2 separate regions of the Homo sapiens genome follow, and region 1 is linked to region 2. Evidence: promoter capture Hi-C in human tissues and cell types (Jung and others, 2019). All regions are on one chromosome and are shown on one strand. Each heading gives the region's core, a stretch centred on a gene start or on the middle of the fragment in contact. The rest is flanking DNA. Distances are from core to core; before and after follow the strand shown. Region 1 overlaps ERH (ERH mRNA splicing and mitosis factor). Region 2 holds the start of GALNT16 (polypeptide N-acetylgalactosaminyltransferase 16).

Region 1 (5,340 bases), core at 1,255-3,754, 130 kb after region 2:
AAGAACAGAAGCTGTGGGTCTGGGCAGTGAAATCAGAAATGTCTTCAGTGATAACTTCTCTTACTGATCAGGAATACCTCTTGTCATTATAATAACTGACAGTTTAAATGTTCTTTATGTCTCTAAGCAAACAAGAAAATACTGCATAATCAAAAGGGCATTATTTTCATCTTACAAAAAGCTTATTTAAAAAACATACAGATCAGAAAACTGGAAAAATCTGACTCTGACTTTAAGTATACGAAATACAAATTTTCATGCCTACATTTTATTATTAATGCATGGTCAGTTTGCTCTGGGTTTAGTCATGTTACAAAGTAGAATCTTATTTATTCCATTTCCACCTACGCTGTTTAAAAAGAATTAATTTAAAAAAGTCCTAGGTCACTGCCATGTAAATTTAATAGAAACTATGAGCACACAACCATCTACAAACCAAAAACGGACCCAGTCTCTGGTCTGAGGAGTAACGGCCCAAATCACAGGATGTGCTGTGGCAGTGGGTTACCTCTTTGGAAACAATACCTTATTTCTCCTGAATATTCAAAGAACAAAAAGGACATAACCAAAGTCACCTGGGGAAAATAGTTTTAAATCCTAAATTTGATTCTGAAAGTTTTTCAGAGGCCAAAAAATTTTCAACATTAGAAACAAACAAATAGTTACAGGTTTTCAAGCTATGATAATTTACGGTTTTTAACACTCTGAAACTACTAAAAAACCATAAATTATCATTAACCTCTCTTCTATATTTCTGGAAATACTGTAGGTGGGAAGAATTATCTAGGTAATAATTAAAGCTTTCCCCCTATGTTGCTTTAATATAGCAAATATTGTATTAAAAATCAGTTTAGTATGCTAGATATGGTTTCTAGTTTACATTTTAAAGTCTAATGCAGCCGGGCACAGTTGCTCATGCCTGTAATATCACTCCTTGGGGAGGCTGAGGAAGGAGGATCACTTGAGCCCAGGAGTTTGAGACCAGCCTGGGTAATATAGCAAGACCCTGTCTCTAAAATTTTTTTTTTATAAAGTCTAGTACAAAGTTAGAAAAGTTATGTTATGTCATTAATGACATACTTGTATATCATTAACATGTCACTTGTAACTGTTTTACTCTGCTCAATTTTCATATTGTTGAAAAAACCTCAACACCTTTTAAATCTCCCTTGAAATTTATAATTTATCTCACACGTAGACATTAAAATTCATATCATTCTACTCCTGGCAAATTTAAGAACATGCTTGTAATTAAAAATAAAACTCTATCCTGACTTCTTCAATCTAGTTGAAAAGGGAGTTGCTGCATATCTAATAATGCTGTGCTCAGCAAGCACTTGATCCTCACAAGGAGTCTTATGAACTAGATTTGTCTGAATTTTACAAATTAGCAAACTAAAGTTTAGCAATACAAAGCTGCCTTGTCAAAGGGAGCTAGCAAATGGTAGACCCAGGATTCAAACCCAGCTATGTCTAATTCTGCCACTCCAGCTAGCTCTTAACCACAGCCTCCCAAGACAAGTAAAACATGATCCTTTGCTTCAAGTTTACTTCCCACTTACTGGGAGTAAGTATGACATCCCAAAAGCGTCAGGATTACATCCTGAATGTTTCAGTAAGGTTCTTTTATAAAACCATAAAGACAACCATTAATTTTTAATCAATGCAGAATATAGCTCTGTAATATAAATAAGGGAAATAGAAAATTATCAATAATTTTAGAAAGCTATTCCTCAAATAACAACACAAGTGACGTGCATTTATATAACCAATATTTACTCAGCACTAATTATGTACCAGAGATGCAGCAGTGAACAAACACAAAGCAACTTCTTCTTAAATTCTATCAATTAATATACACATTATTGGTAATTTCATATCCAGTGGATGATTCTGTCAACACTTAGGCCTCCCAATTCCATGAAGTCTTTTCCTCTAATGATCTCATCTCCTACCCTCTCTTGGCCAGATCCCTAGACCTTGTCATTTCCAACTACTTCAATTTCCTAATTTCAAGCATGTCATTCTCTGATCACCACTTCCTAACACTCTAATGTGAGCAATCCTTGATCCAGTGGGACCTACAATGAACTGATCTACCTCTGTTTCCAGCACCTCCTCCTACACCCCCAATTAAAGCTCATGGTCATTCAGTCGTTGCTGTTGTCCTCATATATGCCCTCAACCTTTAGCAAAATCTTTACTCTCTACCTACTCCTCACCTGTAACCATCCAGGTGAGAGAGACTAGGAAAAAAATCCCATGATCACAATGACTGATTTCACTTTAAATCACTATCAGATAGGTACTTTGGAGGACACTTAATGCATCCCTGAATTAATTGCAGTTCCCTAATTCTTTCACCTTCCTAGCTTATTTCTTACTTTTCCACAAACCTGTAACACCTGTTTCAAATGATGTCCTTGCTCCTTATCTTTCTGAGATAACTGAAGCATACAGAAGATAATTCCCCCCAGCTCCCAAATTTGCCTGTCCTCCCTTTTTTATGATTGAACTGTCCAAGAGCCAATTTGAGCTATCAGTTTCTCCTTCTCTGGTACATCATCCCATCAGCCTGCAAACTTACCATTACTTTTCCCACTTAAAAAAAAGCAATTTCTTTCTCCAGCTACAACCCCATTTTTCTGTTCTTTCAAGCAAAATTCTTTAAATAAAAAAAAGGAAAAAAAAAAAAAAAGCAAGCCTGTAATGGCCACCTATAAATCCTCTCTTTTCATTCCCTTCCATACACTGAAATCTGTAAGCATTTTACTCCTGGCACTCTACCACAACCGTTCTGGAAGTCACCAAAGACTTCCACAGTGTCAAATCCAGGGGTCAATTAAATTCTCAGTCCTCACATATCTGTCCTATCAATGATATGACACACTTCTGCATTTGGCTTCCAGGATATCATTGCTCCCTGCTCCTCCAATCTCCTAAGACACTCTCCTTCACTCATTCCTCTGCAGCCTCAAAGGCTTCCTTAATGACTTCAAACATGCTAGGCACTCCTACTTCAGGACTTCTACACTAGCTGTCCCTCATCCCCTCTGTCTGGTATGTTTTTCCTATAGATGTCTGAATGGCTTAAAGTACCATGCAACATTCATTTGAATGTTCTGAGTGATCAAAGTGAAATGGCTACAACCGGAACACAATGAAGAGGTACAGAAAACAAAACTCAAACATCCCAAGGAAATGCGTGTTTTGGAACTTTTGGGGAGACAGCATGGTGCAGCCACATTCCATGATTGGCTCCAGTGGTGATCCAGGAAGTGCCTATGAGTAAGACTTGTATATTTCTCATCACTGCTCTTTCAACTTCTAGCACAGCACCTGACATGTAATAAATATTCAAGTATCTGATGATTGAGTATTGTATCATAAGGTGCTTCCATTTTCCTCGGTTAAATGAGCTGTATTTACACTCAATTTCTGTTCGCTAATGTAAAAAAGATTAGGTAAGTCTACAGTAACACTTTATGCTCCTTGTTAGTAATTGTCAGAAGCAGATTATCAATACAAACTATAACAAATATGTTAAAAAATCTCACTCTAACATACCAAAATATACGTACTTACACAGCGTAGGATTGAAATTAAATTTCAGCTATACGCATATTTAAGTTTTTGAAATGTCATGAAAAAAAGATAATCTTAGTTTTAATCCAAAACCAATGGCTTTAAGACAAAGACTGTAAAGGAAAAAAAAAATTAGGTATAAGGAACAAAGAAGAGGCACATGGAACTTCTGAATTAGGATCCTTTCTGGATACTAACTATATCAATTAGCAAAGTTATTTTTTTCTGTGCCTTTGGCTTTATGTTGCCAATCTCTTATTTCTGTAAGAGAAATATTAATTACTATACACTATGCAAATGCAAAGATCAGTATCAGGCACATAATTAGCTCCCAATACCATAAATCACCTCAAACAGACAGAAAAGCAATAGAAAATACAAGATAAAAGACATGTTGGCTAATACTTACACCAGGCAGCTGAGGTCTGCCAGATCATCGATGAAATCAAACAACTGACTGATGTCATATGTGATAGAGGGACTGTTGGGATTCATTCTTTTCAGATGTTCTTCATACATTTTACAAACACCTAAGAAAGGATAGGAAAAAAAGCAAAATCTTACAATCGCATACACTTCTAGATATGAGCAGTGCTTATGAGCTGTGCTATATGTTGATATCATATTTACTTTAATAAAGTTGGGCTGGGGAAAAGATGATAGATTGATGGCTTTTGATTATTGCCACTAGCAAATACTTTTTTATTTTATAAATTCACCAGGTCAGGTGTAGTGGCTTACGCCTGTAATCCCAGCTCTTTGGGAGGCTGAGGCAGGAGCATCACTTGAGCCCCACAGTTTAAGACCAGCCTGCCTGGGCAACACAGGGAGACCTCATCTCTACAAAAATTAAAAAATTAGCCAGGCGTGATGGCGTGTGCTTGTGGTCCCAGCTACCTGGGAAGCTGAGGTGGGAGAATCACTTGGCTGCAGTGAGCCGTGATTGCATCACTGCACTCCAGTCTGGGCAGCTGAGAAATTCACCACAATGTTGATGTAACTATTTTGTGTCTTAATAATAAAATGATTACTTCAAACCACTGGAGCTAAGGGGCTTTAAAGACTTGCCATCTGATGGCTCAAACAAATAACACTGTGGGTCTTAACAGGTTTTTCAGTAATTCTTCCTAAAGCCACAGAGCAAAAAAAAAAAAAAAATTGGCAACAAGGAAAGAGATTATCCTAATGTATATTTAAGATCCTAGACTAGGCCGGGCACAGTGGCTCACGCCTGTAATCCCAGCACTTTGGGAGGCCAAGGCGGGCGGATCACGAGGTCAGGAGATAGAGACCATCCTGGCCAACACAGTGAAACCCTGTCTCTACTAAAAAAATACAAAAAATTAGCCAGGCATGGTGGCAGGCACCTGTAGCCCCAGCTACTCGGGAGGCTGAAGCAGGAGAATGGCATGAACCTGGGAGGTGGAGATTGCAGTGAGCCGAGATCGGCCACTGCACTCCAGCCCGGGTGACAGAGCAAGACTCTGTCTCAAACAAACAAACAAACAAAAAATCCTAGACTATGGATTCAGACAGACTTTAGTTCCAACTCTGCCCCTGTCAAACCGAGGACAAACGACGCCATTCCCTGAACCACACCTGTCAAACAGAGTTAAGAGTGCCTCTTCATAGAATTGTGAGGTTTATTTGAAATAATACACATAAAGCATTAGCACATGAACAAGGATATAAGTACTTAAATATAATAAAAAAGATAATGAGCAAAATCATTAATAGCAAGCCCACATTACTAAT
Region 2 (5,711 bases), core at 2,185-4,684:
CAGGGGCATGTGGAACTTTGCCCAGCTTACCCTGAGTGCTGGCTTTGACAGCTTTAAAACAATATGAACTGTGCCTAAGAGAAATCCTGAAAAGGAGGAAATGCAAGTTCAAAGTGGCACAGTTGGTGAGACCCCCCCACCCCAGGACATCTTATATCCCTCCTTTTATGGATGAGAAAACGGAGAACTGTGGGCAGGGAAAGTGAGACTCCTGCATACAGAAATTCAGACCACACTGCAGATTTCCCAGTGGCCTCAGAAGCCCTGTACTCGTACCCAGACACAAGCGTTGAAAATGGCACAGGACTTAAACCGAGCTTCACCACTTACTTGCTGTAGGATTCCAGGCAAGTTGAGTAGCCGTTGAGCTTCAGTGTCATCATCTGCAGTTGGGGATATGATCATCCTTAGCTCAGGGTTGTAGGGGCTTTAGAGACAGTATAGGTGACAGTACCTGGTAGGTACTGAGTAAACTGCAGCTATTATGATGACTCTTGTTTTCACAGTTCAAAGTATGTGAAGAAACAGTGAATTCCTTAGGTGTTGCTTTGATTCTGTGATGCTGCTGGAGTCCATTCCTAGTACCAGAGAGGAAACAACACTCATTGTCATTTCTGAGCATTGAAACCTATCCCAGGGAGGGCCAGTTCTGCACCCACTTGGGATTACAATCTGAAACGAAGACCACAGACTGTAGCCAAGGTGGCAATTCCTGGTCTTTAGCTCTGCCAGAGTGCCTATGGCTTCAGGCACATTACTCCACCTCTGTCTATGTGGAATTCCTGTCAGTCAAATGAGCATGGCAATTACTTGCTGTCTTACCCCCACCCCACCCCCATCATCCCCCAGGGAAGTGCCCAACTAAGGAACAACTGTGGTGAAGTCATCTAGAGAGGCTACGCTTCACTTCTGTGCAGTCTTTCTGGTGGTGGGGGCCAAGCAAACCTTCTCTCAGGGACAGAACTACCAGGAGTGACCATTTGGGGCAGATATATAGCATCCTCACCACTGAGCCCTGGGCAGTAAGTGGTGAGATGTGAGAAACCCTGCCACATTCCAGCCCATCCCACCCCTCCCTCCTTCCCCCCATGGAGCCTTCCTTTTGGAGTCACCAGAAGCCCCAACTGTCTGGTTTCAGTCAGCATGGTCCAGCTTCATCCCCGTGCCGAGGGGTGAGTTTGGAGCCTTTTACCAGGAGGTGATAGGTGATGTGATGTCTTCGAATCCCACATCCAAAGGCAACTAGAGATGCACAGACCAGGCTGGGATGAGGGGAGCAGCCTATGACAACAGGGCTACTCCCCAAGTTTTCACCTGGCTCACCTGAGAGATGTGTGAAAATGGGGGCACCAGGAGGGTAGTTCCCTTACATTTTCTTGGTTGACCTGAGAGGCCTGTGGAGCCTGATTCCCAAGGAGCAAGGTCTTTCCTGGCCTCCCACAAATGGCACCGCTGGATCTGCCCCATGATTCCTGCGGAAACCAGATGGAGGTTTGGCAGTGGTTTTCTCCATCTATGCAAACAAGCCCTGGCCCCTGGCGCAGTCTTATTAAACTCCCCAGGGGAGAGAGACCTGGGAGAGCATCTGGCGTCTCCAGACTCCTGCCCCTGTTGTGACTGCCACACCTTATGCCTGAAATTCCCTGCTACTTGTGTAGACCCTTTGTGAGGCCCTCTTTGTGCATTCTCTTCTTTCTAGGTCCCATTCCTGCGTGGGTCACTTTTGGACTTGTCTAAGTGTCATCGTAATTAGTCTTCTGAGTGAGGATATCGTATTGCAGTAATGACCCTGGGTTTTCCTCAGCAAAAACCCAACTAGGGTTTCTTCACCTCAACAGAAATGTATTGAGCATCTATTATATGTGCGGTTCAGTCTCGAGTGCTGGAGAAATGGAGAAAAGCCACCTGATTTTACTTCTATCTGTCAGGGTGGTGCTCATGGGATGCTTGTGGGGGGGCATGATGCTGTGACTTCAGTTTGCCTGATTCCCCAGATGGCTTCATTTAGAGGCTGGACCCTATGTGGGTCTTCGGAGTAGCCATGGTGTCCAGCAGTGCCAGCAGGAAGCAGACTCCTCAACAACTCTGCCCCGGCATTCAAGGACCTCCTGAGTTCAGACTCACCCAGCCTGGCCAACCTCAACTCCTATCAAATCCTAGGCCCCCTGCAACGCCTGGCAGCTCTCTCTCTTGAACACATCAAGCTCTTCCATCCTCTGGATTTTTGCAAGGCCTATTTCTGCAGTCTCTCCCCTGTCCTCACCTCCCCCTTCCTTACCTCTTAAGTGATTCATCCACCTTTCTGAGAGCTTTCCCAAAGGCCACCTTACAATAAATTATTTCTTCCTCTGTTGGATCCCTACTTTGTTGTTACACATCTATTCATTGAGCGCTCTGTGCCCGACACTGTGCTGGTTTCCTAAAACTCATCCAAGCCTCTTGCTTTCTGCCTGGAGTGAAGAGTAGTTCACGTTCTGATTCTCAGTGCCTCTAGGGCTGGAGCGGAATCTTAATGTCTGTGTCCTCGTCTCTCACCACCGCGTTTTGCACTTTGTCGAAAGGTGTCAGATGGTGAGATGGCTTCTAGACTGGGCTCTGCCCACTAATTAGCTGTGTGGCCTTGGGAGAATCATCCGGCCTCTCTTGCTGCCCTTCTTTCCGATGAAATAATGCTGACGATGATATTTCAGGGTTGTCCAGGGGTCAATGAGGCGGGATAGAGGGAAGCATCGTGAAATCTGGGAGCCCCAGGCCAGCGAAAAATGTGGAAGGGCCGTACCCGCACTCTCCTAGCACTGGGTGTGAGGCAGCGTCGTTTCCCCTTCGCGCTCTTCGAATGTCAAGTGCACCAGCTTCCAATCCCTCCTCTGGGCGGGCCCGGTCTGGCTAATCTCAGCTGCAGATTCCAGTACAAACTCAGGACTCTCCCCCGCCCAGCCGCCCCTACACAAGGACTCGCCGAACACACCTTGAATCCCGCGCCAGAGCGCAGCCCGGAACTGCAGCTCGCGGCGCGGGCCCAGGTCGGGGGTCGCGCGTCTCCAGTCGGTGACTCAAGGCCGCTCGGTCCGGGGGTGGGTGTGGGTCGGCAGGACCGACCAGGGCCGCGCGGGGGCAGCTGCCGGGCGTTCGGTCACCTAGCGGTGGGAGCCGAGGCTGGCTTTGGCCAGTCGCCATTCCGCCGCGGGCGTCTGTCTCGCCGGGTTCCCGGGCGCGGGAGGAAGGCCCGCGCCGCTTCCCACTCGGCGCGCTTCTCTCCCAGTGCGCAGTGGCCTGGTGGGTCAGCCGGCGGCGGCTGGAGCGCGGGGCCGGCCCTGCGCACGAATGAATGGGCGCCCGGGGGACGCGCGCGCTCGGGGCTGAAGGGCATTAGGACCGTGAGGATCGCTCCGCGATCCTGTCTCTCCCTATCACCCCCCCGCCCCCCCACCTCTCTCCTTTTTCTGCTCTGCAGGACTGAGCAGCTAGGCGCGAGCGAAAACAAACAGCTGGGGCTGCGAGCGCCCCCGCCCCGGCCCCGAGAGCACGCCGGCCCAGTCCCCCACCTGGGGCGCCCGTCTGCCCACCATGAGGAAGATCCGCGCCAATGCCATCGCCATCCTGACCGTAGCCTGGATCCTGGGCACTTTCTACTACTTATGGCAGGACAACCGAGCCCACGCAGCATCCTCCGGCGGCCGGGGCGCGCAGAGGGCAGGCAGGAGGTCGGAGCAGCTCCGCGAGGACCGCACCATCCCGCTCATTGTGAGTACGCCCCGAGCGTCGGCCGGCCGGCTAGGGAGCCGCGGCGCGCGTCCAGACCCTGCGCGGCGGCCGAGGGCGCGGGGCCCGGCCAGGGCTGAGTGCCCGCTGCGCCGGGCCGGCTTTGTATATGTTGGAGCATTCCTGCCCGTTGTTATGGCAACCTCTGCCGGGCGGCGGGGCTGGGGCGCACCGACTAAGGGAGGGTGACAGAGGGTGGGGGCTGGGAGAAAGTGCTGCAAGTTTGGTGGGCCCGGCGTGCGCGCGCGGCTGGGAACGTGGCGGCTCTCCCGGCTCTGCGCTGCCGGGGCCGGGAGTCTGGGGGCTGCGGGAGCCTCGTGTGCCCCGGAAGGCTGCCGGGCCCAGCGCGCGGCGAGCGGGCGGTGGGAACCACTCGCAGCCGAGCGCGTAGGTGGCAGTGCGCAGCCCCTCTCCAGCCTTCTGGGGGCAGAGGACATCGGGTGGGGGCGTGGGTAGGGGAAGGCTCTCTAGGCGCTGCGCCTGGCTTCGAACCCCCTTCTGAGCCGGGTCAACTTGAACCCGCTTCTTCGGCGCGGACACCCAGCTTCCCCGGAGTTCTCTGGGTTGAGGAGAGGTCTCGCACTGTACGCGTCTCTCACTCCCAACCTTAGGGTCCGCCACCACGGGTAGGTGGGCAGTGTCAGCGCCCGAACTTGGCGATACCCTTGCATGAAGTCAGCCTCGCGACATCTAAGCGGGCAGGGAAACAAAGGCAGTGTGGCACAGCGGGGGCGGCGGCGGGGCTGCGGGGGCCCTTGGCGCTCTGGGGACCCGGGCGGGGGCGTGCGGAGCCGCAGCCGCCCTGCAGGGGGCGATCCTGTCGCCGTCTCCGTCCGAGCCCCAGGTGACAGAGCTGTGCGTGGCCAGGCAGGGGCACCTGTTGAGGCGGGAGGCTTTGGCACCCGCCGAGAGTGCGCTCGAGCGGGCGCATTCTTCCAGACGGGGGCGGTTGGTGGACGAGAGCCTCGGACGACCCTCGGGAACTACCAGGGCGGGGCAGCCTGGCCGGATGAGGACCAGGAAGAGGAGAGCCGAGTGGGGCGGGGGTAAAGGAGTGAGGAAGCGTGGCGATTCCGACAAGGAAAGATCTGGGCCTGGGGGTGGAGGGGTGAGGAGATCCGCGGGGGAGGTGCAAGGTCCGGAGGGCTGAGGCTTGTGTGGAGCCGAATCCGAGAAACGCATCCAGACGCGGATCTGAACCCCAGGAATATCGGGAAGTTCATTGGAGAGTGTCCCCTCATATTCCCATCCTGCCCCAGATTCCGAGTCCCCTGCAAAGGAAACATTATTTCAGGGCTTTGCCTGAGGAGACCTGGGGCGGGGGGGTGAGGTTGTGGGTTTTGTCCTAGATACCAGTCTGGGTGAACTCTCTGGGGGCAAGCCTGATTAGGTGCACTGTTCCCTTCTGGGCTGTTCTCCCAGGACACTGTTTCCAAAGCACTTGTCGCCCTTTGGACAGAAAACTGATAAGGAAAAGCCTCCTGTGCTGAGGCCCCAGAGTGTTGTGATCTGAGCAGAGGGACAGGTTGGAGCTGGAACTGTCCAAACCAGCAGTGGCCTCCAGACCCCAGGGAGCTTCCTCTCCAGGAGCCCAGGCTGCCACATTCATACTCAGTGGCAGGAAGAGCCCTAGTCTCAGGCAAGGCAGGCTGGCCAGATGCTCTGTCCCTCTTTCTGGTGAGGCGATGAGAAGAGGGTCTGAGTTGGAAGGGGCGGAGAAAGAGGCTGGGCAGGGAGGAGAGGAGGGAAGAGAGCACAGGAGACTGCTGCTCAGAGCCTCTGCTTTGGAACCCGGAACCTGAACCCTGACCTGGCCCATGCACCTCTCTCCTGCTCCTTCCAGAGTCCTGTAAGATGCACTGGGAGGGCCGCTCACATTTCTCAAGAGTCCCAGAATGGTGTAGGGGACCTGCTGGAAGGATTCAGCACTCATTTTGAGGGGTGGGAAT

Evidence for each region. The method cuts DNA at HindIII sites, captures the fragments that hold promoters and counts their contacts. A contact is called where the count stands out against the background at its distance.
Region 1: a contact is called between a fragment that was not itself captured here and the fragment with the promoter of GALNT16 in region 2, in 8 of the 25 tissues and cell types used here (aorta, dorsolateral prefrontal cortex, heart right ventricle and 5 more).

What each region holds. Positions count from the first base shown.
Region 1 is chr14:69,382,969-69,388,308 of GRCh38, forward strand. It overlaps ERH (ERH mRNA splicing and mitosis factor), which reads right to left. Exons shown (of 4, transcript NM_004450.3): 3 at 3,995-4,115. It also overlaps a transcript of GALNT16 not described here. Among named protein-coding and RNA genes, the nearest start is that of ERH, 13 kb to the right of the region's middle. The HindIII fragment of the contact is 7,932 bases long and covers 1-5,340 here.
Region 2 is chr14:69,256,724-69,262,434 of GRCh38, forward strand. It overlaps GALNT16 (polypeptide N-acetylgalactosaminyltransferase 16), which reads left to right and starts at 3,435. Exons shown (of 15, transcript NM_001168368.2): 1 at 3,435-3,744. The coding sequence starts at 3,568. It overlaps GALNT16-AS1 (GALNT16 and EXD2 antisense RNA 1), which reads right to left and starts at 3,804. Exons shown (of 4, transcript NR_184249.1): 1 at 3,567-3,804; 2 at 331-578. RefSeq lists a silencer at 4,481-4,540. The HindIII fragment of the contact is 13,760 bases long and covers 1-5,711 here.